Regions from separate parts of the Homo sapiens genome. Here all the other regions are linked to region 1. Evidence: promoter capture Hi-C in human tissues and cell types (Jung and others, 2019). All regions are on one chromosome and are shown on one strand. Each heading gives the region's core, a stretch centred on a gene start or on the middle of the fragment in contact. The rest is flanking DNA. Distances are from core to core; before and after follow the strand shown.

The links. Contacts are between HindIII fragments. The study calls those that stand out against the background at their distance.
Region 2: a fragment that was not itself captured here is called in contact with the fragment with the promoter of APBA3 in region 1 in 2 of the 25 tissues and cell types used here (aorta and stomach).
Region 3: a contact is called between the fragment with the promoter of SGTA here and the fragment with the promoter of APBA3 in region 1, in 1 of the 25 tissues and cell types used here (small bowel).
Region 4: the fragment with the promoter of NCLN here is called in contact with the fragment with the promoter of APBA3 in region 1 in 1 of the 25 tissues and cell types used here (pancreas).
Region 5: a contact is called between the fragment with the promoter of ZNF555 here and the fragment with the promoter of APBA3 in region 1, in 1 of the 25 tissues and cell types used here (pancreas).
Region 6: a contact is called between the fragment with the promoter of DPP9 here and the fragment with the promoter of APBA3 in region 1, in 2 of the 25 tissues and cell types used here (hippocampus and pancreas).
Region 7: a contact is called between the fragment with the promoter of STAP2 here and the fragment with the promoter of APBA3 in region 1, in 2 of the 25 tissues and cell types used here (aorta and hippocampus).

What each region holds. Positions count from the first base shown.
Region 1 is chr19:3,760,213-3,764,069 of GRCh38, forward strand. It overlaps APBA3 (amyloid beta precursor protein binding family A member 3), which reads right to left and starts at 1,480. Exons shown (of 11, transcript NM_004886.4): 1 at 1,324-1,480; 2 at 1-89. The coding sequence starts at 52. It overlaps MRPL54 (mitochondrial ribosomal protein L54), which reads left to right and starts at 2,470. Exons shown (of 3, transcript NM_172251.3): 1 at 2,470-2,606. The coding sequence starts at 2,489. LOC105372248 (a long non-coding RNA gene) reads right to left here and starts at 2,428. Exons shown (of 3, transcript XR_936268.1): 1 at 2,346-2,428; 2 at 1,937-1,994; 3 at 1,542-1,642. RefSeq lists a silencer at 1,365-1,682 and an enhancer at 2,344-2,833. The HindIII fragment of the contact is 13,428 bases long and covers 1-3,857 here.
Region 2 is chr19:3,160,315-3,163,837 of GRCh38, forward strand. GNA15 (G protein subunit alpha 15) reads left to right here. Exons shown (of 7, transcript NM_002068.4): 7 at 2,479-3,435. The coding sequence ends at 2,705. Among named protein-coding and RNA genes, the nearest start is that of GNA15-DT, 6.9 kb to the left of the region's middle. RefSeq lists enhancers at 2,137-2,431, 2,235-3,096, 3,097-3,523. The HindIII fragment of the contact is 7,338 bases long and covers 1-3,523 here.
Region 3 is chr19:2,781,127-2,784,874 of GRCh38, forward strand. It overlaps SGTA (small glutamine rich tetratricopeptide repeat co-chaperone alpha), which reads right to left and starts at 2,147. Exons shown (of 12, transcript NM_003021.4): 1 at 2,107-2,147. RefSeq lists enhancers at 913-1,012, 2,509-2,578 and a silencer at 2,069-2,118. The HindIII fragment of the contact is 32,124 bases long and covers 1-3,748 here.
Region 4 is chr19:3,184,357-3,187,780 of GRCh38, forward strand. NCLN (nicalin) reads left to right here and starts at 1,574. Exons shown (of 15, transcript NM_020170.4): 1 at 1,574-1,858. The coding sequence starts at 1,675. RefSeq lists enhancers at 652-1,534, 841-980 and a silencer at 1,491-2,060. The HindIII fragment of the contact is 11,170 bases long and covers 21-3,424 here.
Region 5 is chr19:2,839,664-2,843,117 of GRCh38, forward strand. ZNF555 (zinc finger protein 555) reads left to right here and starts at 1,812. Exons shown (of 4, transcript NM_152791.5): 1 at 1,812-1,912. The coding sequence starts at 1,910. RefSeq lists silencers at 1,273-1,382, 1,393-1,582, 1,803-2,102, 2,143-2,192. The HindIII fragment of the contact is 15,507 bases long and covers 1-3,454 here.
Region 6 is chr19:4,722,129-4,725,998 of GRCh38, forward strand. DPP9 (dipeptidyl peptidase 9) reads right to left here and starts at 1,714. Exons shown (of 22, transcript NM_139159.5): 1 at 1,546-1,714; 2 at 371-423. It overlaps TRG-TCC1-1 (tRNA-Gly (anticodon TCC) 1-1), which reads left to right and starts at 1,942; the gene lies at 1,942-2,013. It overlaps TRV-CAC3-1 (tRNA-Val (anticodon CAC) 3-1), which reads right to left and starts at 2,579; the gene lies at 2,507-2,579. LOC105372250 (a long non-coding RNA gene) reads left to right here and starts at 752. Exons shown (of 3, transcript XR_936274.2): 1 at 752-858; 2 at 2,492-2,581; 3 at 3,007-3,459. RefSeq lists silencers at 1,515-1,664, 1,895-1,984, 2,435-2,634. The HindIII fragment of the contact is 28,361 bases long and covers 1-3,870 here.
Region 7 is chr19:4,336,436-4,340,299 of GRCh38, forward strand. STAP2 (signal transducing adaptor family member 2) reads right to left here and starts at 2,392. Exons shown (of 13, transcript NM_001013841.2): 1 at 2,217-2,392. The coding sequence starts at 2,318. The HindIII fragment of the contact is 19,957 bases long and covers 1-3,864 here.

The DNA of each region.
Region 1 (3,857 bases), core at 230-2,729:
AGTCCATGGCTGGAGGCCCCGAAGGGGATCGGGAAATTGTGGGGAAGTCCATGCCTGGACTCCAGGCTTAGGCCGGCATCTTCAGGCAGCTGAAAGAGAGAGAGTCAGCACTGAGGTTTCGCCCGGGTGCAGTGGCTCATGCCTGTAATCCCAGAATTTTGGGAGGCCCAGAAGGGCTGACTGAACCCAGGAGTTCAAGATCAGCCTGGGCAACAGAGCAAGACCCTCTCTCTACAAAAAATACAAAAAATTAAGGCCGGGCACAGTGGCTCACGCCTGTAATTCCCAGCACTTTGTGAGGCCGAGGCGGGCAGATCATGGGGTCAGGAGTTTGAGACCAGCCTGACTAACATGGTGAAATTCCGTCTCTACTAAAAATACAAAAAATTAGCCAGGTGTGGTGGCAGGCACCTGTAATCCCAGCTACGCAAGAGGCTGAGGCAGGAGAATCGCCTGAACCCGGGAGGCGGAGGTTGCAGTGAGCTGAGATCGCGCCATTGCACTCCAAGGTGGGCGACAGACGAGACTATCTCCAAAAAAAAAAAAAAAAACTAGCTAGGGGTGGTGGTGTAGGCTGTAGTCCCAGCTACTTGGGAGGCTGAGGTGGGAGGATCACCTGAACCAGGGGAGGCAGAGGCTGCAGTGAGCCTTGATTGTGCCACTGCACTCCAGCCTGGGTGACAGAGTGAGGCCCTGTCTTAAAAAAAACAAACAAACCCGAAAAACAAAAAACTTGAGGTTTCCCGGCTGCCTATCCGGTGCTAGGCTCTAGCTGGGTACTGTTCATACAGGGCACATAATTTAATACCCACTAACCCTTGCAAGGAAGTTAGGATTCCCATTTTACAGATGAAGAAACTGAGCCACAGAATGGGGAGGTGTGAGGCAGTGGCTTCCCGAGCCCCTGTGTCATCCCAGACCTCTCTCAACTAATGGAGTCTGTTCACTCCAGCCCTGGTTCTTCCAGGTCCTCCTCCCTCAAGACGCGGAACCCAGGCTGGAGACCCAGACCTCACACCCTGACTCTACCGACTGGTCAGAGGCAGTTCCCCAAGACCCCAGACCCAAGACCCCAGTCCCATGACCTCAACCCCCAATACCTCCATCCAGAACTTTAGACCCAGGACCCTGGACTTAATACCAGAGACCCAAGACGCCATAAGGCGGACCCCAGTCTCCAAACCTCCAATGCTACCCCAAGATCGACTCCAGACTCAGACCCCGACTTCAGGACCCAGCCCCAAGCCCAGACCCTAGTCCCCCCTCAGACCGAAGACCTCAAGCGCCGACTCAGACTGCGCTCTGCACCTCGAGGACACTCACTTCCCAAATCGAGGCCGCCTCAGCCCCGCGCAGCCTCCAGGACCCCGCTCCCCACGGACGGCCCCGACGTAGCCCGGGCCGCGTCCCCAGAAGGCGCAGCTCGGGGATTCCCGGTCCCGGCGCCCGCTCCTCTATCCGCGCAGAGCCCTGGCCCATTGAGCATGCGCGGCCTCGCGAGGCCTGCTGGGAAATGTAGTTCTCCCACCCAGCCTCGCCACGCGGGGGCGCTGGGACAACTGCAGATGTTGGAGGGGAGTTCGAATCCCAGGCTTCCCGGCCCGCAGACTGCCCCGGCTGGCCCCAGGACCTGTTTGTTCTCCTGCAAAATAGGGTTAATAATCACTGCCTGGCTCTGGGGGCTGTGTTCATTATTCCAAAGGATGGCAGATGGGGAGAAGTGGGGTTGGGAAATATTAAAGAAGTGTGAGAGGTGGTTTCCTTGGGACCTTGAGGCACCGGAAGCGTCGTGGAGACCCTGTTAAAGACGGACTTTCGGTTTGGCTCACAGTAGGGAGACACATAGGTGCACCATGGATTTGGGGTCGGCCTGGGAACTTTACCTCCCTGAGAACTCAGTTTCCTCATTATAAGCTGGGGAAAAAATAGTACCTACCTCTCAATTGTGAGGATTAAATTAGATCAAGCGGGTTAAGGATTTAGCAGTAGTAGAGCTGGAAAAGAATATATAAAATATATATTATTAATTTATATATTATATATAAAACATACTATATATTATATGTATTATATATGTTATATATAATTTTAAAAATATAATGTTATAAAAATTAACAGTGATTAGACTCCAGCCCTACTGGAGTATATTAGACTCATTGTTAATCTTCTTTTTTTAACTTTAAAGCTTTGAATAATTACTCATTGGATGGAATCAGGAACATATAAAGTGTGATATTTTTAGTAAATGTTATGTAATTGAAGAAGGGCAAGAAGTCAATGAAATATCCCTTGAACGCCTCCTCCTATAGTAACTGTGTATGTCTACAAAAGTCTGAAGAAATCACCATAGATTATGAAAGCTTGGGAGACCGCATTTCCCAGACACCTCCACGGGGCCTACACTTCCACGGGGCCTACAACTCCCAAACACCCTTGGGCCACTGACGTCTTCCGGAAACGTGCACTTGCAAGCTGCCCGCAATACGTCATGGCGACCAAACGCCTTTTCGGGGCTACCCGGACGTGGGCCGGCTGGGGGGCCTGGGAGCTCCTAAACCCCGCCACTTCCGGAAGACTCCTGGCCCGGGATTATGCCAAGAAACCAGGTGAGCTGGGTTAAGAGGAACCAAATGGGGACGGTGGGTGCACTGAGGAATTGACAGTGCGCAGGCGGTGGTTGGGGAGGTGGTGCTAGAACTGATGCGCAAGCGCAGAGAGGCGGATGCCAGGCTGTATGCGCAGGCGCAGTTTGAGGGACCCAGCGCCGCTTGGAGCTCGGGCGTCTGGCTCGGAGATACTGTAGCGATTGGACCCAGGGCGCAGGCGCCAGCTTGGGGCGGAGCGGCCTGGGAGGAGGATGTGGTTACGTGGAGACCACGCGTTTCACTGCGCAGGCGCGGGTTGGAAAGGATTTGAAGGGAGTCTGGGGAGGTCATGAACTTGGGTTCCAGTTCTGTTTCTCTGCCTGCCTCCAAATCGCTGGGTAACCTTGGCCAAGACGTTACCAAACATTCAAAGAAATTATGGAGCCCGTTTAATTGGCCACTTCAGCAAGAACAAAACAAGGTTATTAAGGTTTAGCTGGATACAGCCTTGCCTGATCTCCTTTGTTGAAAGGGGGAAATTGTCCAATGTTCGGCCTTAAAGACAGACACATAGCAGACAAAATATAACTTGAATGACTTGGTCATTCCAAGCATCGGTGTTACTTAATGCTATGTCCAAATCCCACTTAAAGTTACTTAATGCTGTGTCCAAATCCCACTTAAAGTGATTTCGAGGCCAGGCATGATGGCTCACACCTTTATTCCCGGCACTTTGGGAAGCCAAGGAGGGAGGATCGATTGCTTGAACCCAGGAGTTCGAGACCAGCCTGGGCAACATAGCAGGACCCTGTTTGTATAAAAAAAAAAAAAAATTGCCTGGCGCGGTAGCTCACGCCTGTAATCCCAGCACTTTGGGAGGCTGATGCAGGTGGATCACAAGGTCAGGAATTCAAGATCAGCCTGACCAACATGGTGAAACCCTAGCTCTACTAAAAATACAAAAATTAGTGGGGCATGGTGGCACATGTCTGTAATCCCAGCTACTCAGGAGGCTGAGGCAGGAGAACTGCTTGAACCCAGGAGGCGGAGGTTGCAGTGAGCCGAGATCACGCCACTGCACTCCAGCCTGGGCGACACAGTGAGACTCTGTCTCAAAATAAATAAATAAATAAATAAAAATAAAAATAAGCGGGGCATGGTGGCTCACAACTGTGATCTCAGCTACTTGGGAGGCTGAGGCAGAAGGATCACTTGAGCCTGGGAGTTTGAGGCTGCAGTGAGCCATGATTGTGCCCCTGCCCTCCAGCCTGG
Region 2 (3,523 bases), core at 965-3,464, 600 kb before region 1:
CTGTCTCTCCTTTTCCACCTCCCCTGTTCTCTCTGTCTCCATCTGGGGCCTCATGATCCACAGCCTCTTCACATGGTTTGAGCTTACTCACAATATGGCTGCCTCAGGGTAGACAGACTTCAGCCCAGGTGGAAGCTGCTTCTCATGATAGCCTCAGAAATGTCAGACGTTACTCTGCCACATTCTATTTGTCAAGCACATCACTCATATCAGCCCGGATTCAAAAGAAAGAGACTCCATCTCTTGAAGGCAGCATGACACATGCATACAGGGAGGGAAGGAAGTGACGGCAGCCATCTTGGAGATAACTTGCCTTCATGTCCTGGGGATGCCGTAACAAAGTACCACAAACTGGGTGGCTTAAAACAACAGGAAACAACAGAAGTCCAAAGTTAAGGTATTGGCAAGGTTGGTTCCTTTTGGAGGCTCTAAGGGAAAATCCATTCCATGCTTCTCTCTCAGCTTCTGGTGGTGGCCTACAATCCTTAGCTTGTAGACATATCACTGCAATCTCTGCCTCCATGTTCACATGGCTGTCTTCTCACCATGCCTTTATGTGTCCTCTCCTGTTGTTATAAGGCCACCAGTCATTGGATTTAGGGCCCATACTTTGGTATGACCACTTTTTTTTTTTTTTTTTTTTTTTGAGACAAGGTCTTGCTCTGTTGCCCAGGCTAGAGTCCAGTGGTGTGATCACAGTTCACTGCAGCCTCAACCTCCTGGGCACAGGTGATCCTCCCACCTCAGCCTCTTGAGTTGCTGGGACTACAGGCGCACACCACCACACCTGGGTAATTTTTGTATATTTCTGTAGAGACAGGGTTTCGCCATGTTGCCCAGGCTGATCTGGAACTCCTGGGCCCAACCACACATCTGTCATCCACCTGCCTTGGCCTTCCAAAGTGCTAGGATTACAGGCGTGAGCCCTCATGCCTGGCCATGACCTAATTTAACTTAACTAATTACATCTGCAAATATCCGATTTCTAAAAGTCATATTCTGAAGTTCCAGGTGGACATGAATTTTGGGGGACACTGTTCACCTCAATATACAAGCAACCATAGTAGATGAGTCCTTAGTACATGCTTGACACCAGGTCCACAATCAGTAAACATAAACTTTGGTGAAGTCACCAGGTTTTGATCCCTGGTCTTGTCATGTCTCAGAGCCCATGAGGCCAATTTTAGCCAATTATACCCACAAGATTCAGGGTCTGGGAGATAGACGTCAAGTTGTTCCAGGATGGTGGCCTGGATAGCCCCTCTTCCTTGCCAAGCAGCCCTGGGAATCAGCTCATAGTTTAGAGAATTTGGGAACAGGATAAGGTAGATATTTTTTTCATTCAGGTCAAAGGGAACCACCCATGACTCATCCTTGTCTCCCAGCACAAGTGACTGGTGCACTCTTTGCTGACTCCCAGCCCTACCCTCCACTGTGCTAAATAATATTTGTGATAATAATAAGAAACCACACTTTGGGAGGCTGAGGCGCGCAGATCGCTTTAGGTCAGGAGTTTGAGACCAGCCTGGCCAACATGGCAAAGCCCCATCTCTGTTAAAAATACAAAAATTAGCTGGGTGTGGTGGCGGGGGCCTGTCATCCCAGTTACTCGGGAGGCTGAGGCAGGAGAATCGCTTGAACCCAGGAGGTGGAGGTTGCAGTGAGCTGAGATCATGCCACTTCACTCCAACCTGGGTGACAGAGTGAGACTCTGTCTCAAAATAATAATAATAATAATAATGATAATAATAATAAAATTGATAACAGCAGCTAACACATCTACCGCACTGGTGGAAGCACTCTACAAAGCTTCTTTAATCTTCATGTTAAAACCCTATGCAGGGCTGGGCACAGTGGCTCACGCCTGTAATCCCAGCGCTTTGGGGGGGTCAAGGCGGGCTGATCATTTGAGGTCAGGAGTTCGAGACCAGCCTGGCCAACATGGCAAAACCCCATCTCTACTAAAAATACAAAAATTACCTGGGCATGGTGGCAGGCGCCTGTAATCCCAGCTACTGCCAAGATTGCACCATTGCACTCCAGCCTGGGCGACAGAGCGAGGCCCCATCTCAAGAAAAAAAAAAAGAGGACTCTCTTCCCCTCGTTTGGCCTTGATGCCGCCATCTTCACAGTCCTGGGATATTTGTCTATGCGATTCCAGTCTTCCAACTGCACTGGCTGTAAGCGAGGCCAAGAGAGTGTCTCTCTTTAACACAGTTCTGCCCGAAGTCCCAGAGCTGGGTCTCATTGGTCCATTTCAGGTCACATGACTCGTGTGAGACAATCTCCTGTGTTCCCATTGGCTGGGCCGGAGTCGTGTGACCAGCTATGACTACAAAAGATGGAGTCAACGCACAGAAAAATGACAGGCGCGATCCCTGGGTCCCTTCAGTGCTGGTTACAGGGAAGAGGGTCTCCAGAGGCCCCCTGGGTCCAAAGAGGGAGGGTCCTCACCCCCTTCCCACACTGTTTCCCCAGGCCCTAAGCAGGATGCTGAGGCAGCCAAGAGGTTCATCCTGGACATGTACACGAGGATGTACACCGGGTGCGTGGACGGCCCCGAGGGCAGCAAGAAGGGCGCACGATCCCGACGCCTCTTCAGCCACTACACATGTGCCACAGACACACAGAACATCCGCAAGGTCTTCAAGGACGTGCGGGACTCGGTGCTCGCCCGCTACCTGGACGAGATCAACCTGCTGTGACCCAGGCCCCACCTGGGGCAGGCGGCACCGGCGGGCGGGTGGGAGGTGGGAGTGGCTGCAGGGACCCCTAGTGTCCCTGGTCTATCTCTCCAGCCTCGGCCCACACGCAAGGGAGTCGGGGGACGGACGGCCCGCTGCTGGCCGCTCTCTTCTCTGCCTCTCACCAGGACAGCCGCCCCCCAGGGTACTCCTGCCCTTGCTTGACTCAGTTTCCCTCCTTTGAAAGGGAAGGAGCAAAACGGCCATTTGGGATGCCAGGGTGGATGAAAAGGTGAAGAAATCAGGGGATTGAGGACTTGGGTGGGTGGGCATCTCTCAGGAGCCCCATCTCCGGGCGTGTCACCTCCTGGGCAGGGTTCTGGGACCCTCTGTGGGTGACGCACACCCTGGGATGGGGCTAGTAGAGCCTTCAGGCGCCTTCGGGCGTGGACTCTGGCGCACTCTAGTGGACAGGAGAAGGAACGCCTTCCAGGAACCTGTGGACTAGGGGTGCAGGGACTTCCCTTTGCAAGGGGTAACAGACCGCTGGAAAACACTGTCACTTTCAGAGCTCGGTGGCTCACAGCGTGTCCTGCCCCGGTTTGCGGACGAGAGAAATCGCGGCCCACAAGCATCCCCCCATCCCTTGCAGGCTGGGGGCTGGGCATGCTGCATCTTAACCTTTTGTATTTATTCCCTCACCTTCTGCAGGGCTCCGTGCGGGCTGAAATTAAAGATTTCTTAGAGGCTGCGTCGCCAGCGTCCTGTTTATCCCCTCTGCATTCCTTTCTCGGCTTACGTGTCCCGGGGGCAGTGCTTACAGTGCGGGGAGCAACGTG
Region 3 (3,748 bases), core at 897-3,396, 980 kb before region 1:
CAGAGCCACTGTTGGGTCTTGGCATAAAAAAGAAAAAATGTAGAATTGAGTAAGACGACAGCTCTCAAGGATCCTCCAATCTGGGGCAGAGCTCACCCGCATTTGGAATCATTCACCCTTCTAGGAAGATTTAATTATAAACCTCAGCTCAAATCCTTGGCGTGCTTACAGCTTTCCAGGCACCCAGTTAAGTGCTGTACATGCGATAGCTTATTTTAGGGGTCAGCAAAGGTTTTTCTGAAAAGGGCCAGATTGTCTTCAGCTCTGCAGGCGTTAAGTTCCCTATGGCAACTGTTCAACTGTGCCTTCTTAGCTCGAAATCAACTACAGGTAACGCATAAACCAAGGAGTGTGGCTGTGTTCCTACAAACCTTCATTCACAAAAACAGGCCAGAGGTGGATTTGGCCTTCTGGTCAGTTTGCTGATACCTTGCCTGGTTTAATCCTCACACACCTGAGGTGGTTACTATTATAATCCCCATTCCACAGAAGAAAAACTGAGGCTTGGAAAGATGGGGACCACCCGAGACCACCCAGCTCCGAGGATGAAAATGAGGAGTTCTGAACCCAGGCAGTCTGACTTGAGAAGCTAAACTCCAAAGTACCCATTTCTCTCTGCACGAAATTGGGTGCACACACAAAACTTTGTACACGATTTCCCGGGCCCACACAGTCCCAGCTGCCCATGCTGGTGAAGAATCACTGATCTAGGGTAGATTTTTTTTTTTTATTTTTGACAGGGTCTCGCTCTGTCGCCCAGGCTGGAGTGCAGTGGCATGATGTTGGGTCACTGCAACCTCTGCCTCCTGGGTTCAAGGGATTCTCCTGCCTCAGCCTCCTGAGTAGCTGGGATTACAGGTGCACACCACCATGCCCAGCTAATTTTCATATTTTCAGTAGAGACGGGGTTTCACCACGTTGGCTAGGCTGGTCTTGAACTCCTGACCTCAGGTCATCAGCCCGTATGGTAGGGTTTTTAAAGCATTATTGACATTTAAAGCTGGATCATTTTCTGGGGTGAGGCCGTCCTGGGTACTGCAGGGTGCCGAGCAGCAACCCTGGCCTCCACCAACTCCAAACCAGGGGGTCCCCCAAATCATGACAAGCACAAATGTCACCAAGAATCCCTGGGGCACAGAATTGTTCCTGGTTGAGAACCACTGGTCAAGGGAGGGAAAAGGCAGACAAAAGGAATAATCAGAGACAGAAACAAAAGAAAATGGGACAATCATTCAACCTCTGAAGGGCACACTACACTGCAATTTTCTGGCACCTAATAACAAAAACAGCTATTCTCAAGCCAGCTCTCTCTTATCAAGTTCCAGGCACCTGATCAAATAATTGAATGTGGGTTTATCCTCATAATGACCCTCCGAGGCATCTGCTTTTACAACTCGTTTGCGAAAGAAGGAACAGTTTGCTCAGAGAGGGAAGGCGACTCACCCAGGTTTACACAGCGGGTGGGAGGTGGTGGTGGACGGTCCTGAATCCCAGATTTCCCCCACCTCTAGCACGATATGCAGAAGAAGACTCTAAACATGATATAAGACGAACGCCTGCTAATTCTTTGGAGTTCTCAGATTCCGCTGGACCCTGCGGCTCTCCTTCTCCTAGGCAGGGACTTTTGAACAACGCCCGTTTTACAGAGGGGAAAACTGAGGCTCCGAGAAGCCAAGAGGCTGGGCAAGGTCACCCAGGTAGGGACTGGCGGCGCTGGAACCAGAGTTCCGACTTCAGTCCCCACAAACGGGGGTCCCTGAGTCACAGGGACGACGTTTCCAGGCGGTTAATAAGAGCGGAACGGCAGCGAACACCCAGCGAGCGCTCACTACATGCGGGGCGCCTTCCCCTCCCGCCGTCCTCGCCACCAGGCCGCGGACCAGCATTTCCAGGACCTGGGGCCTGGGGAAGGGAGATCAGGGCTCGAAGGGCCTGCCCGATGGCGCCCGGCCTCAGTTTCCCCTCCGCACCGCCTACTCACAGGACCCCGCGGGTCGCGGTGACCCTGGCCTCACGATCCCCAAACTCTTACGAGCTTTGGGGCCCCGTGGGCCCCGAGCCGCAGACCCCAGACCCACCAGGCTCAGCGCAGTGCCCCTCACTCACCTCTCAGGCGACCGATCCCCGACCCACCGACGGTTGCGCTTGCGCACCGCGGTGCCGCCCGGCCCCGGCCCCAGGGCGCGACGCCTGCGCAAAAGAAAGGCGCCCGGAGTTGCTTCCCTTCTGCACAGGCGCGTTAATGATGGAGGCGGGCGTGGAAGGAAGTGACGCAACGTAGAGGCGGGAACCAGCTGGTTGTTAGGGCAACTGACCTCTGCGACCTAATGGAGGCCGGAAATCGGGTCTGGTTTGCCCTCTAGAGCGGGAATGAAGCGGTGCACGGTGGAACAGTGGCTGACTCCAGCCGGTCGCCGAGCTGACCACGTGGTGCTGGGCCGGCCACGTGGTGCAGCCGCGTTTGGACACCTGGACTCCAGAGCGTCACAGCTGCGCAATGAATGGGAGTCAGTGTTACCCGCTTACTATCTTTGTTCATTTATTCACCCACCCATCTACTCACCCACAAATGCATTCTTTCATGCAGTGTGAGACGTTTGTGAGTATAGAGCCATTTGTAGACAGCAGGTGCCTAATATTCATTCAATATTTATTGCAAAGCAGCCATAAAAACCAGCAAAGTGTCTACTCTCATTATTTTGCATTGGGGTAGACGGACTATAAACTAATAAACTAGTACATAAATAGAGAAACAAATTTCACAGCAAACACTAAGAAAAAAAAAATGAAGGTAGTGTGATTGTCACTGGGAGCTAAGTCGCATGGGATGGGTAGGAAAGATCATCCTTTACATTTGGATTTCAAGGATAGGAAAGTCCAAACGGACCCCAGGCACAGGGAACAGCGAAAATGAACGCCGATGTAAAATTAATCTTGGTGTTGCTCAAGACATGTGATGAGACATTTCCAAGGACGACAGAAAACTGATCACCATCTAAGTTACAGTTGCCAGAAATGTTCTCCCAATTCATTTTCGTCCTACTCAAAATACATGCACGATTAATGGCGTGGATTATTTTAATTTCTTTTGCAGAAATAAAGGAGGTGAGGCCGGCCGTGGTGGCTCACGCCTGTAATCCCAGCACTTTGGGAGGCCAGGGGGCAGATCACTTGATGTCAGGAGTTCGAGACCAGCCTGGCCAACACGGTGAAACCCTGTATCTACTAAAAATGCAAAAATTAGCCGGGCGTGGTGCGGGCATTTGTAGTCCCAGCTACTCGGGACGCTGAGACAGGAGAATCGCTTGAACCCGAGAGGCAGAGGTTGCAGCGAGCCGAGATCGCGCCATTGCACTCCAGCCTGGGCGACTGAGCGAGACTCCCTCCAGCCCCTCCAAAGCAAAAGAAAACAAAACAAAAACAAAAAAAGGGAAGAAAGGAGGTCGGTTGTTTTGGTTTTTGCCAGTTTAATTGTAGTACATTGTTTTTTCTGGGTGCCCTAACAGTTCAAGACAGATGGTTCAAGATGTTTTTTGTTTTAACCCACAACACTGCATGTAGGTCAGGCTACTGCACTGTTCCACAACACCTGTTATTTGACATGAATCCGTTTACTTGCTTTTGTTTCTGACAAAAAAAAAAAAAAAAAAAAAAACTTGGCCCGGCGCGGTGGCTCACACCTGTAATCCCAGCACTTTGGGAGGCCGAGGCGGGCGGATCACGAGGTCAAGAGATCAAGACCATCCTG
Region 4 (3,424 bases), core at 324-2,823, 580 kb before region 1:
TTAAGTGTCACCTCCTCCAGGAAGCCTCCTCTGATTTCCTCTCCTCCCTAGGCCTCCTCTGGGCTTCTCCCAGCTGCCTTTGTGTCCTCTATCCCAGCTCCCATCACCCCTGGTCACACAATCCACCTCCTCCTTTGGACTTCGAGCTCCGTGTCGGTGGATAGTGTGGCTTTGCTGGGGTCCCGGCTGTGTCCCCAGCACCCACCACACGGCTGGCACACAGTAGGTGCTCAGTGACCCAGCAGCACACTCAGAAACTCCCTTTCTAGCCGGGCGCGGTAGCTCACGCCTGTAATTTACAGCTACTCAGGAGGCTGAGACACAGGAATTGCTTGAACCCAGGAGGTGGAGGTTGCGGTGAGCTGAGATCAAGCCACTGCACTCCAGCCTAGGTGACAGAGACTACATCTCAAAAACAAACAAACAAACAAACAAACAAACAGAATTCTCACATGCTGCTGGCAGGGAGAGTGCTTGATTCTTTATCATTATATCTGAGGAAACTGAGACTCTGAGAGGTGAAGCGACTTGCCCAAAGCCACACAGCTGGGAAATGGAGGAGTTGGGATTTGAGCCCAGGCTCTTAATCGGCACCAATGCCACTTCTCACTTGGGACAGAAAGGAAGCCCTGACTCCTTAGGCAGCTGTACGGAGCCTGGGATGATAACGTGCTGAGAGCCAGGGCTACTGTCTGCTGCACCCTGGGGCTCAGTCTCCCCATCTGTACAAAGGGACGTTCCTTAGGTACCTCCAGCCCTGAGACACTGGGTTTTAACTTTAAATTTCTGATGAACAACAAATACTTTTTTAGTATAAGTATGCCCCAAATATGAATAAAGATAAATATAAATACCTGCCACCGACCCCTGCACAAACCGCAGGTTCCAGACTACAAGTCCCACAACCCACTGCGGCCTCCCTTAGGAACTGACTATCATGACTTTCTATTTTTCATTCATTCATTCAAAAATGGTATAGGCCACCCGCCGTGCGCCAGGTCTTGTGCTAGATGCCGGGGATACATCATATGCACAAAACAGACAAAAGTTTTTGCCTTCGTGGAGTTTGACATCTACATCCTCGGGAGTTTTAAGTGATTTTTGTTTTTCTCAGCAATTTCTGCCAGGACGACTACAGTTCCCGTGACCCTTTGTGTGTTTGACGGGACTACAACTCCCAGAAGACCTAGCGCGCCAGGCAGGCACTTCCTTTTCTCTTTATCCCCAACTTCCTTCCAGGTCGCAAGGTCACGTCCTGTCCCCACCTTTCGCCCCTCACCCTAGCTCCCCCAACGCCAAAGACAAGGTTAAGAAAGTGATATCGCGAAATAGTTTTTTAAAGCATTTTATTGCATTTTATGACTTGGAGTTTATGTGAAACCTCAACGGTATTAGCCGAACAGCCTGCCGCACCTTCCGGGAGTTCCAGAGTGGGCCTACAACTCCCACAGGGCTCCGCGAGCGCCGGACGGACGGACTACAATTCCCGACAGGCAGCGCGGCTGGCGGGGCGGTTCGCCGCGGTGCCCACAGGACCTCAGGGCGAGTGCGGGCTGCCCCGCGCGGCGCCCGCAGGACCCCGGCGGCTACCCATGCCGAGGTGAGTCCGCGGGAGCCGCCGCCGCCGCCGTCCCGTCCCAGCTGCCGCCCCGCGCGGCCCCGCCGCCGGCCAGGATGCTGGAGGAAGCGGGCGAGGTGCTGGAGAACATGCTGAAGGCGTCTTGTCTGCCGCTCGGCTTCATCGTCTTCCTGCCCGCTGTGCTGCTGCTGGTGGCGCCGCCGCTGCCTGCCGCCGACGCCGCGCACGAGTTCACCGTGTACCGCATGCAGCAGTACGACCTGCAGGGCCAGCCCTACGGTGCGTGTCCCCGGCCCACCCTCGGGGCTCCCCGGGCTCCCCGGCCACGCCACTCCGGCCCGGCGATCCCCAGGCCGATCCCTAGCTCCGGCCTGGGCTGCCCGACCCATGCTCAGGCCCCAGGCGAGGCAGAGCCCTGCCGCCCTGGACCCCCGGGCGCCCTGGAATCCCTGCTCTCCTTGCCTAGCGCCCAGGGACCCCCCGCGCTCGCTCCCACAGCCCCCGGCCCCTGCCTAGGTCTCCCTGCCCCGGAACCCATGGCCGGGCCAAGCGTCCCGCGTCCCTGGAGCCCTAAGTCCCCTCTCTCCTGTCCCCAGCTGGGCCGGCGTCTGCCTGCCTTGCCGAGTTTCTCCCTCCTGGGCCCCCTCCGCCCCTTAGGCTTCCTGGTCCGGGCTCACTTGAGCAGACGCTCCCGTCCTGACCTCCAGCTCCCAGGGTCCTGTTCTGGAGACCATCTGGTTGGTCTCTGGATTCACTGGGTCACGTCCGTGTTCCCAGGCCTCTCGCCTTTAGCTGACTGCGTTTGGAGTTAAAGGTCCCTGCACTGATTTCTGCCAGGCTGAGCCACCCGACGCGGTGGTCCAGCATTCCCCACCCCCTCCCACGGCCCTGGGTGCCAAGTGCATTTTGTCCAGTGCCCAAATTCAACTCCCCTGAATTTTCTCGCTCTAGTCACCGGCCCCCACGTCAAGGGCACATTTGTCCCCAGACCCCTGACGCTCTCTGGTCCCAGTTCGTGAGTCATGTTTCAGAATCTGCTAGCCCAGCTTCCCTGGTCTCCTCCCACGTCCCCAGTTCAGTCCACTCGCCTGGGGTTCCCTTTGACCCCCTTTCTGTCCCGCCTTTGATGCATACCCACGCCCTCAGCTCAGCCTCCTCACACCCACTTCCCAGAACCCCACTTGTTCCATCTTTCCAGGATTTCCTCTTCCCTTTCCAAATTCGCACCCCCTTGCCCTTGCATTCTGCAAGTCTCCCACTCAACAGCCTCGCCCCCTCCCGTCGTGGCCCTGACCCCAGTGTCTAGACCATTCCACATCCCCTTGTCTTTGCCTGGCTATAGCTGTCCCTGACATTCCAGAACCTGGTCCCTGGTTTTTCTTCTTTTCAGCCTGGCCCCTCAGGTCCCTGGAAGTCAAGGCCTGGCCTTCCCTGTGAAGGAGTCCCGTCCGCTTGTTCTCCTGGCCCCCTTAGTTCCCAGCCCGGATTCTCTTGGATTGGTCCCTCTCGTCACATCTCAGGCTCAACCTGAGGCGCGGGGACCCCCAGCTTCTGCCAGCCCTTGGGGAGCCCATCTCTGGAGATGGAACCAGACTTTGGCCTCAGGTCCCATTTTGCCCCAGAGTTACGATTTTTTTACTTAGAGCCATTGTTGTCAACCGAGGGGACGCTGGGTGATGTCTGGGGACATCTGTGGTTGTCACGACCACGGGTGCTCCTGGCATGGAGTGGGTGGAGGCCAGGGACGCTGCTCAATTCCCTGTAGTGCCCAGGACGGCCCCACCCCAGAGAACGATCCGGCCCTAATGTCCACAGTGTCCAGGGGAAGCGCCCTGGGGCCACAGT
Region 5 (3,454 bases), core at 562-3,061, 920 kb before region 1:
ACAAATAACAAATATTTACCATGTTCATCATTTTTAAGTCTAAAGTTCAGTGGCGTTAGATACGTTCCTGTTGTGCAATATTATAGACTTCCTTTTTTTTTTTTTTTTTTTTTTGAGACGGAGTCTTGCTGTGTCCCCCAGGCTGGAGTGCAGTGGAATGATCTTGACTCACTGCAACCTCTGCCTCCCTGGGTTCAAGCGATTCTTTTTGTTTTTGTTGTTGTTGTTTGTTTGTTTGTTTGTTTTTGAGACGGAGTCTCGCTTTGTCACCCAGGCTGGAGTGGTGGAGTGCAGTGGCGCGATCTCGGCTCACTGCAACCTCTGCCTCCCGGGTTCACGCCATTCTCCCGCCTCAGCCTCCCGAGTAGCTGGGACTACAGGCACCCGCCACCAGGCCTGGCTAATTTTTTTGTATTTTTTAGTAGAGACGGGGTTTCACCGTGTTAGCCAGGATGGTCTCGATCTCCTGACCTCGTGATCCGCCCGCCTCGGCCTCCCAAAGTGCTGGGATTACAGGCGTGAGCCACCGTGCCCGGCCTCAAGCGATTCTCTTGCCTCAGCCTCCCTAGCTGGGATTACAGGTGCGCGCCACCACGCCCGGCTAATTTTGTATTTTTAGTAGAGACAGGGTTTTGCCATGTTGGGCAGGCTGGTCTTGAACTCCTGACCTCAGGTGATCCGCCCGCCTCGGCCTCCCAAAGTGCTGGGATTACAGGCGTGAGCCACAGCGCCCGGCCAGCTTTTCAATCTTCCAAATTTTGGGGGGATGTACTTAAAAAAATGATCTGAAAACATTTTCCTTAGAGTTTAAAATATGAACTTGAGAGTTTTTTTGTTTTTTAATATGGAGTCTCACTCTGTCGCCCAGGCTAGACTGCAGTGGGGCGATCTCGGGTCACTACAACCTCCACCTCTCGGGTTCAAGCAATTCTCCTGCCCCAGCATCCCCAGTAGCTGAGATTACAGGCGCCCGGCACCACGCCGGGCTGATTTCTGTATTTTTAGTAGAGAAAGGGTTTCACCATATTGGCCACGATGGTCTCAAACTCCTGAACTCAGATGATCCGTCCACCTCGGTCTCCCAAAGTGCTGGGATTACAGGCGTGAGCCACTGCGCCCAGCCAAATGTGAGGGTTTTAATGAACATCTCATATCTTCTGGTTGATTTGAGCAAAGCTCCTGCCCCCTGCCAGGCTTTGGGTTCGGCCTCCCCCAGACCGGGTCTCCGGATTCGCAGCCCCCTGGGCGGGGTCTCCATGTCGCCCGCAGCGCGATGACGTCACGTCTGCGGGTCCCGCCCCCACGTAGGTCTCGGCCCTTCGGACCCGGCGCCCAGCCCCCGTTCGCCCTGCCAGGCCCGGGCCGCCCGCTTGCATCCACCTCCTGTCCGGACAAGGGGTCGCCTCGTGAGGAAACTAGTCTGGAGTTCCCACGCCCGTCCCGGAGGAGGACGCGGGCGGGGCGCCCGAACTGCGGGGAGAGGGCGATTCCGCCCCGGGCTGAAACCAGTTCGCCCAGAAGCCAGTGTCCCCGCAGGGCGGGACAGCCACGCGTGTTCGCAACGCTCCCGTCACTCACCGGCAGGGGGTGGGCCCTAGGGAACTACCCAGTCAGGACGGGCGGGGGCGGGGCCGAGACAAGTATCCAATGAGGGACGCCCAATCGGAATCCGGGGAACTGCCCAATTTACAGCGCCAGGGGACGGACTGGGGAATTCTCCAATCAGAGTCGCCGACGTTGGCAGCACTGTCCAATCAGAAGCGCGGCTTCCCGAGCTCTGTCTAATCAGGCCCCTGGGACGGGACGCCTCTGTCCTAGCCGTGAGTGCCCCGCCTGCCCCTAGCGGTCCCTGGCGTCCCGGTTCCTGTCGCGCTCACCTGCGCCGGTAGCGAAGAAATCGCCCCGGGACATGGTGAGTGTGGCGCAGGAGAGGATCCCGGTGCGGGGCAGCAGGAACCGGCGACCGCCCGAGACCGCGGCTTGGGGGGAGCTGAGGGACGCGGGGGGCGGCCCCGGCGAGGGCGGCGCAGGACGGGAGCCTGGGCCCCGGGGGTCCCGCCCGGCCCCGCCTCCCGCGCTGAGGTCGCGGCTAGGGCGCTCCGAGCTCCGGGTCCCCGCCCGCCTCTGGCCCCAAGGCTGCAGAGCGGGGAGCGGCGCCCGGAGCCCGACTCCGTCCCCGTCGTCCCGGGGTCCCCGCGTCCCTGCGCTCCCGACCCCCCACGCCCCGCCCGGGGCCGCGACGCCTCGGAGCGTTTCGCTGCGGCTTCGGGACCCCCGGGCCGCGGGAGGCAGAGTCGCCCGAGACCCCGAGGTGCGGTCCAGGCTCCCCCGGGACCCGCCCTGGGGCCGACGCCGCGGTGCCTCCTGGGGTGCGGGTCCCTGGTCGGTGCCGCCTCCGCTCGCGCTCCCGCGGCTCAGCTCCTTGGAGGCCCCGCGCCTCCGGCCGCGGTCTCTGGGGGACCCTGGGTTCCTCCCGGGACAGCCCGGGAGCGGTGGGGCCTCGGCGGGGGCGGAGACGCCCCCACCTGCAAAGGCAGCCCCTGGGGCGTGCGAGGTTTCCTCCCCTGAGTCCCGGTTTTCCTTCTTGAGGACTTCTTGTCCCCTCTGACCCCAAGATGCCTGGGGTAGGTAAGGGGAAAAAAAACAAGGGTTCCTGGTCCCTGGGCTCTCACACACAAGGAAGAAAAGTAACTGAAAAGACTAGAGAAACAAGGGAGAGCGAGGACCCCAAAAGCAAACGCACGCAGACCCACAGCGGGGACGCCCGGGAGGCTGGTGCATTAGTGTCCTCGGACTGCTGTAGCAACTGACTGCAAACGAGGGGGCTAAAACCACGGAAATATATTCTTTCACGGTTCCCTAGAAAGTGTGGATTTGAAGACGTTTCTCAGTTCTGTTTTGAGTACTAGCAATGGGATTCCTTGCTGAGGCAACACCTGAGTTGGGGGTGGGAGGGCGTCCGTCGTGGTAGCCTGGCCAGACTTGACCCCTCCCTGGGTTTGTCACTGTGAAAAGATTTTCCTTTTTTCGAGTCAGCAGTTTTTAGGAAGTGAAACGTACATTTAATTAGTAGAAGTTGGAAGATAAAATATTTCCAGGCCGGGCGCGGTGGCTCAAGCCTGTCATCCCAGCACTGTGACAGGCCGAGGGGAGCAGATTACTTGAGGTCAGGAGTTGGGGACCAGCCTGGCCAACATGGAGAAACCCCGTCTCTGCTAGAAATACAAAAATTAGCTGGGCGTGGTGGCGGGTGCCTGTAGTCCCAGCTACTCGGGAGGCTGAGGCGGGAAAATCACTTGAACGCAGAAGGCGGAGGTTGCGGTGAGCTGAGAACGCGCCATTGCACTCCAGCCTGGGTGACAGAGCGAGACTCCGTCTCAAAAAAAAAAAAAAACTTCCAACGGGGTGAATTTCAGGAAAAAAATTAAAATCTGTGTCTTACATTCCATTTGTT
Region 6 (3,870 bases), core at 464-2,963, 960 kb after region 1:
AACCACAGGAAGGGGGAGACTCAAACTAAAGTCCTTTCAGGGCCAGAATCCACACCATTTACTGACCGGGTCAGGCAGTGTAGGTGGATCCAGGCACCCCTCCACCAAATCCTGCTGAAATCAGCACTCTCCCCTTCCTCTCCTCAAAGCCTTCAAAAAGCTCCTTCCAGGGGCAGCTAGAGGGGGACAGGGGTGGAAAGAAAAGCCTCCAGCAGGCGCACAAAAAACTGCAGCCACTGCCCTGCGGAGGACAACCATCCAGGGCCATAGAAAACCATTTCCTGCCCATGTCTATATTCTAGAGCAGGCAAAGGAATCCCACCAGCCCACACCCCAGCCTTCCTGGCTGCCAAACCCCAGCACAACTGACCTTCTAAAGGGTCCAGAGAGCCTCCATTCCAGCTGCAGGCGTGGGACACAGACCTTTATAGGATAAACATGTCATGAATGTGGCAGGTTAATGGAAGCACCGGCCAGCCGTTCAGCCTCCCCCACTCAGGAGCTGCAGACTGTCAGGCCCGATTCTACCTGGCTAGATTCTAGCTCTGCCTTGAAGCCCTGCAGCACTGTCTGCATGCCCTGGACAGAATCTGGGAGAGAAGCCATCCCACGGGCCCCGATTCCCCTGGGACCCAGCAGAGGAATGCAGGGATTGGTGCCTACGGTCCACACCCCCTGGGCTTTAGTCCCAGCTCCTCGAAAGCAGGTTGGTTCTTGCCTGGGAGGCAAGTGACTTCCTCCTGGGGCCCCTGGGGAAGACCAGGGGGTGGGGGCCAAGGGAATAGACCACTTTTGATGGCTCAGAGGCAGCGTGAACAGGGAAGTGTCAGGGCTGGCCTAAGGCTGTGTGGGAAGAAGGTAGGCGGTTGGACAGGCCTGAGAAGGGAGGCTGAGAGAAGGGGGCTGAACCCTGTGGGCTGGACCCTTGGAAGACAGCTATGCTAACCACTACACCACCAACGCCTCGGCAGGAAAAAGAGTCTCTGGATACCCTTAATAGAGGGATCAAGTAGGGTTGAGGATCAGGACTGGATTGGGGAGACCAAGCCTCGGGGCGAAGGTTGGAGGAAGTGGTAAAGGAGTGAGGACAGGATGCAGGTCGAGGGAGGTGGCCTCTGTGCATATACAGCATTTGCATGGGGAGAGGGAGGAGATCGGGACCTCCAGAGCCTGCACGAAAGGGGAGAGGGTGTCAAGGTCTGCAGCTACGAGGACGTTCTTGGGTGCGGCCACCTCCGGAAGGGGTCAGAGCCTGGTGGCCTGGGCAGCAACGGGATGGGTGGGGAAGCCCATCAGGGAAGGGGAGAAACTGGGAGGTGGCCTGGCCAGCGCAGGAATCGGGGAGGGAAAGAAGGTGGAGGAGGGCCTGGGGCGGAGAGGAAACGAGGCAGGGGGCCGGAGGGACCCACAGACGGGTGCATGGAGGCTCCGGGGTGCGGGGAGGCCAGGCGATGGCGAGGGCAGGGTCAGGGCCGAGGCGGGGCCGGTCAATGGCGGGTTCAGGGTCGCGGCCGGGGCGGGACGAGGCGCGCGGGCGCTGCTCACCGGGACGTGGGGCGGCGGCCGGACTGGGCAGGTCGTCCCGGGTCCAGCGGCGCCTCACGGTCGCGGCTCCATGCCCGGGACTGCGACCCCGGAAGTGGCGGGAGCGGGGGACGACAGCCGCGGCGGACACAGGGGACCCGCCGGCTCAGGCACCTTTGACCCGGAAGTTGAGCGACCCAGGCGGCGGCCTGGGATTGGACACCACCAGGCACGTACCAAGGCGTCCGCGGCGCTTGGGGGGGAGCCCGCGGCGCGGCGGCCTAAGGTGCGTAACGCCCCATGAACGACATCTTCCGGTGGGTTAGGGAGAGACACCCCCCTGTGACTTGGTATCACTCAGTCAAACCCATGATCCCCCACTATTAAGGATATCCGGAGAGGATGCTACCTATCAGGGCGTTGGTGGTATAGTGGTTAGCATAGCTGCCTTCCAAGCAGTTGACCCGGGTTCGATTCCCGGCCAACGCATGCGGTACCACTTTTGCGAGTTTGAAATTTTCATTTTAGTTTTGAGACGGAGTCTCGCTCGGTCCCCCAGGCTGGAGTGCAGTGGCGTGATCTCCGCTCACTGCAACCACCACCTCCCAGGTTCAAACGATTCTCCTGCCTCAGCCTCCCAAGTAGCTGTGATTACAAGCGCACGCCACCACGCCCATCTAATTTTTGTATTTTTAGTAGAGATGGGGTGGGGTGGGGCGGGGTGGGGCGGGGTGGGGGGGGGGGGGCGGTTCACCATTTTGGCCAGGCTGGTCTCGAACTCTGACTTCAGGTGATCCGCCCTCTTCGGCCTTTCAAAGTGCTGGGATTACAGGCGTGAGCCATCAATCACGGAAAATTTTTTTAAATCCCATAAAAATGTCTAAAAGGCAGGAGGAAGGCGGAAGAGAAAGAATGGGACTAGAATCGTTCTTTCGGTGAATTTCAAATAGTATTACTCTCCGGTTAGGAAAAACAGCTGACCTGTTTCCGCCCGGGATCGAACCGGGGACCTTTCGCGTGTGAGGCGAATGTGATAACCGCTACACTACGGAAACCGGTAGGCGTCAGGGTTCTTTAAATTCTCCTATAGAGATAATGTTGCAGTGATAGTTGCGTTGTCCCACCAAAGAAACACTGGCTACAGTCAGCTAAAGCAATATCCGCTCTTCCTGAATATCTGTTATTGTATTTGATACAGTAGAGACCGAAAGAAGGAAAATAAGGAAGACAAAAAGAAATCCAATAAACACCCTTTCCAACACACCCACCCACCCACACACATGTTTATCACTTTATCATAAATCCACCTTCCATTAAAACAATGCACGTCAAACGGCCCACAAACCCATCCGGGGTCAAATGAAGCTTTTCATCTCATAGATATCAATCTATACTTGATATCACATTAGTTTCTGCAGATATTCACCATTTTGCTTTAGATCAAACTACTTTTTTGTGTGTTTTGTTTTTTGTATTTTTTAGAGAGAGTCTCGTTCTGTCGCCTAGGCTCGAGTGCAGTGGTACGATCATCCCTCCCTGCAGCCTCCACCTCCTGGGCTCAAGCGATCCTCCCACCTCAGCCTCCTGGGTAGCTTGGACCACAGGTGTGGACCACCACGCCTGGCTGAATTTTAAAAAATGCGTTTGTAGAGACGGTGCCTTATAGCTGGGACTACAGGCGTGTGCAACCACTCCCAGCTAACTTTTGTATTTTTTGTAGAGACTAGAGGGCCTGCACTATGTTGCCCAGGCTGCTTTCCAGCTCCTGACCTCAACGTGATTCGCCCGCCTGCAGCCTCCCAAAGTACTGGGATTACAGGCATGAGCCACCGCGCCCGACCCCAACTACACTGTAAAAGAGCTTTCTGAAAAGAAAAACTGTGTGTGTATGTGTTTACCTTCCGATGGAGTTTTGCTCCTGTTGCCCAGGCTAGAATGTAGTAGCGCAATCTCAGCTCACTACAACCTCCGCCTCCCGGATTCAAGCGATTCTCCTGCCTCAGCCTCCCAAGTAGCGGGGATTACAGGCACCCGCCACCACGCCTGACTATATTTTGTATTTTTACTAAAGATGGAGTTTCGCCATATTGGTCATGGCTGGTCTCGAACTCCTGACCTCAAGAGATCCGCCCGCCTGAGTCTCCCAGAGTGCTGGGATTACAGGCATGTGCCACCACGCCAGGCCTCTTTATTTTCTTAAAGAGACAGTAGAAGAGGTGGGAAGATGATGGCAAGAATTTAGAATCAGACTGCTGTAAAATTCTGCACACCCTCACTCCTGCGGGGCTGGGATTAGGGTGAGGAGACTAAAGCATTGTAAGGCACTGGCACCAGGTGCAAAAATTA
Region 7 (3,864 bases), core at 1,142-3,641, 580 kb after region 1:
GCCTCCCGAGTAGCTGGGATTACAGGTGCACACCACCACGCCCAGCTATTTTTATTTTTAGTAGAGATGGGGTTTCATCATGTGGCCAGGCTGGTCTTGAACTCCTGACCTCAAGTGATCCTCCCACCTCGGCCTCCCAAAGTGTTGGGTTACAGGCGTGAGCCACCACGCCCGGCCCCCATTATCTTTCTTTTCTTTTTTTTTTCTTTTTGTTTTTGAGAGCAGTCTCGCTCTTGTCCCCCAGGTTTGAGTGCAATGGCTTGATCTTGACTCACTGCAAACTTCGCCTCTCAGGCTCAAATGATTCTCCTGCCTCTGCCTCCCAAGTAGCTGGGATTAAGGCGCCTGGCACCATACCCAGCTAATTTTTGTATTTTTTAGTAGAGACGAGGTTTCACCATATTGGCCAGGTTGGTCTTGAACTCCTGACCTCAGGTGATCCGCCTGCCTCGGCCTCCCAAAGTGCTGGGATTACAGGCGTGAGCCACAAGCCCGGCCTCCCCCATTATCTTTCTTAACTGCAGTGATCTACTGGCTCTAAAGGGTTTGTTGGTTGGGGAGGATTTGGATGTATGGAGGTAGAAGGAAAGTCTACTCCACTACAGGTAAGGGAACCTCAGGGGCAGAGGCGGGGACATGGGCAGGGAGGAGCTGGGGGTGTTTGTTTTGATCTGTATTAGAAAATGAGGCAGTCATGGTGGCTCACACCTCTAATCCCAGCAGTTTGGGAGGCTGAGACAGGAGGATCACTTAAGGCCAGGAGTTTGAGACCAGCCTGGGCAACATAGCAAGACCCCATCTTTTTTTTTTTTTTGAGACGGAGTCTTGCTCTGTTGCCCAGGCTGGAGTGCAGTGGCACGATCTTGGCTCACTGCAACCTCTGCCTCCCAGGTTCAAGTGATTCTCCTGCCTCAGCCTCCAGAGTAGCTGGGATCACAGGCACGCACCACCACGCCCGGCTAATCTTTGTATTTTTAGTAGAGACGGGGTTTCACCATATTGGCCAGGCTGGTCTCAAACTCCTGACTTCAGGTGATCCACCTGCCTCAGCCTCCCTAAGTGCTGGGATTACAGGTGTGACCCACTGCGCCTGGCCAGCAAGACCCCATCTTCAAAAAAAAAAAAAAAAGGCTGGGTGCGGTGGCTCATGCCTGTAATCCCAGCATTTAGAGAGGCCGAGACAGGTGGATCACCTGAGGTCAAGAGTTCAAGACCAGCCGGGCCAACAAAATGAAACACTGTCTTTACTAAAAATACAAAAATTAGGTGTGGTGGTGCGTACCTGTAATCCCAGCTACTCGGGAGGCTGAGGCACGAGAATCGCTTAATCGTTTGAACCTGGGAGGTGGAGGTTGCAGTGAGCCGAGATGGTGCCACTGCACTGCAGCCTGGGTGACAGAGTGAGACTCAGTCTCAAAAATAAATAAATAAAATAAAAGCCAGAAGAGGCAGTGCATGCCTGTGGTCCCAGCTACTCAGGAGGCTGGGGCGGGAGGTTCACTTGAGCCCAGGAGTTTGAGGCTACAGTGAGCCATGATCGTGCCCCTGCACTCTAGCCTGGGTGACAGAGCAACTCTGTCTCTAACAAAAAGAAAGAAAGAAAATGAATATGCGGCATTGGGAAGGAGAGATAGGGCCTCACGGGGAACGGAGGGGCTGGGACTTTATTCTGAGGGAGACATAAGCACACACACACACACACATGCACGCACTGTCCATGGCAACTATCTGTCCTGTGGAATGTGGCCCCCGCTAGCTCTTACTGTCCTCACATGTCACCTGTCCTGGCCTTCGCCCCAGCAGCTGAGGTTCACGGAGTTTTTCCTGGGCTGGGAGCGGGAGGAAGCTCGGGAGTCAGAGGACTCCCCATTTCCTGGAGGAAGTCCCTGATCTTGTTTGTATTCAAGAGAGTGAACGAGAGACAAAAGCAAAGATTGAGACAAAGAGAGAGGGAGACTGAGACAGACATCGGGAGAGACAGACGGGGCCAGGGAGAGAGAAAGAGAAAAAGAAACCAAATTCAAAGACACACGGAGACAGAGATAGACGCACAGAGAGGCAGATGGCCAGAACCCACCCCAGTCCCCCAGCACGTGTCCTGCCCCATCCAGCACCCACCCCGCCCCCCCTTGGCGAGTGGGGAGACAGGGACTCAGAGAGGTGCCGCAGCTCCCCACGGTGGCCCAGCAGGGCCAGCCCCCGCCTCCCCACCTTACCCGGTCACAGGGCCCCTTCTTCTCTAGAAAGCTCTCATAGTAGTGTGAAGGCAGGACACCCTTAGGCTTGGGGACACGGGGTGGCCTCAGGGCAGAGGCCATGACGGAGCCAGGGTCTTCCGCCTGGCCTCTCCTTCCAGTGGGTGCCCCAGCTGGGCCGGGAAGCTGAGAAACAGGTTTCAGGGGAGTTTCCTGTGTCAGCCCGTCAACTCCCTCCCCTGCCAGGGCTGGGCAGAGGCTGATCCCAGCAGGTCCAGTGATCCTAGGGAAATCCCCGCCTCTCCGGTGTGGAACTGAGAACAGAGAGAATGTATAAGTCTACTTGAATGGGAGAATAATCTTCGCTATATCTGCAAAGACAGAGACATGGTCTGTCTCTTTATTTATTTATTTATCTATTTTTCCTATTTTGAGACAGAGTTTCACTCTGTTGCCCAGGCTGGAGTAAAGTGGTATGATCTTGGCTCACTGCGACCTCTGCCTCCCGGGTTCAAGAGACTGCGCTGCCTCCCGGGTTCAGAGACTGAGTCCAAGCTCAGTCTCCTGACTAGCGTGGATTGCAGGTGACCGCCACCACGCCTGGCTAATTTTTGTATTTGTAGTAGAGACGAGGTTTCCCCATGTTGGCCCAGGCTGGTCTCGAACTCCTGACCCCAAGTTTTCTGCCCGCCTCAGCCTCCCAAAGTGCTGAGATTACAGGCATGAGCCACCACACCTGGCCCTTTCTCTTACTTTGATGGACCCTAATGATTACATTGGGCCCACCTGGATAATCCACGCTACTCTCCCTATTTTAAAGTCAGCTGACTAGCAACTTTAATTTCATCTGCAATTTTTCTTTTTTAGACGGTGTCTCATTCTGTTGTCGATGCTGGAGTGCAGTGGCACGATCATAGTTCACTGCAGCCCTGACCTCCCAATCTCAAGCGGTCCTCCTGCCTCAGCCACCCGAAGAGCTGGGACTATAGGTGGGCACCACCACACCCAGCTAATTTATTTTCCTTTTTTAAGGATGAGTTCTCACTATGTTGCCTAGGCTGGAGTACAGTGGGGCGATCATGACTCACTGTAGCCTCGACCTTACAGGCTCAAGTGATCCTCCAGCCTCAGCCTCCAGAGTAGGTGGTACTACAGTTGCATGCCACCACACCTGGCTAATTTTTTTTTTTCTTTTTTTTGAGACAGACTCTCGCTCTGTAGCCCAGGCTGGAGTGCAGTGGCGTGATCTCGGCTCACTGCAAGCTCCGCCTCCCAGGTTCATGCCATTCGCCTGGCTCAGCCTCCCAAGTAGCTGGGATTACAGGTGCCTGCCACCACGCCCAGCTAATTTTTACACTTACTAGAGACAGGTTCTTGCTATGTTGCCCAGGCTGGTCTTTTTTTTTTTTTTTTTTTGAGACAGAGTCTTACTCTGTCACCCAGGCTGGAGTGCAGTGGAGCGATCTCGGCTTACTGCAACCTCTGCCTCCCAGGTTCAAGCAATTCTCCTGCCTCAGCCTCCCGAGTAGCTGGGATTATAGGCACGTGCCACCATGCCCAGCTAATTTGTTTGTATTTTTATTTTAGTAGAGATGGAGTTTCACTGTGTTAGCCAGGATGGTCTTAATCTCCTGACCTTGTGATCCACCTGCCTCGACCTCCCAAAGTG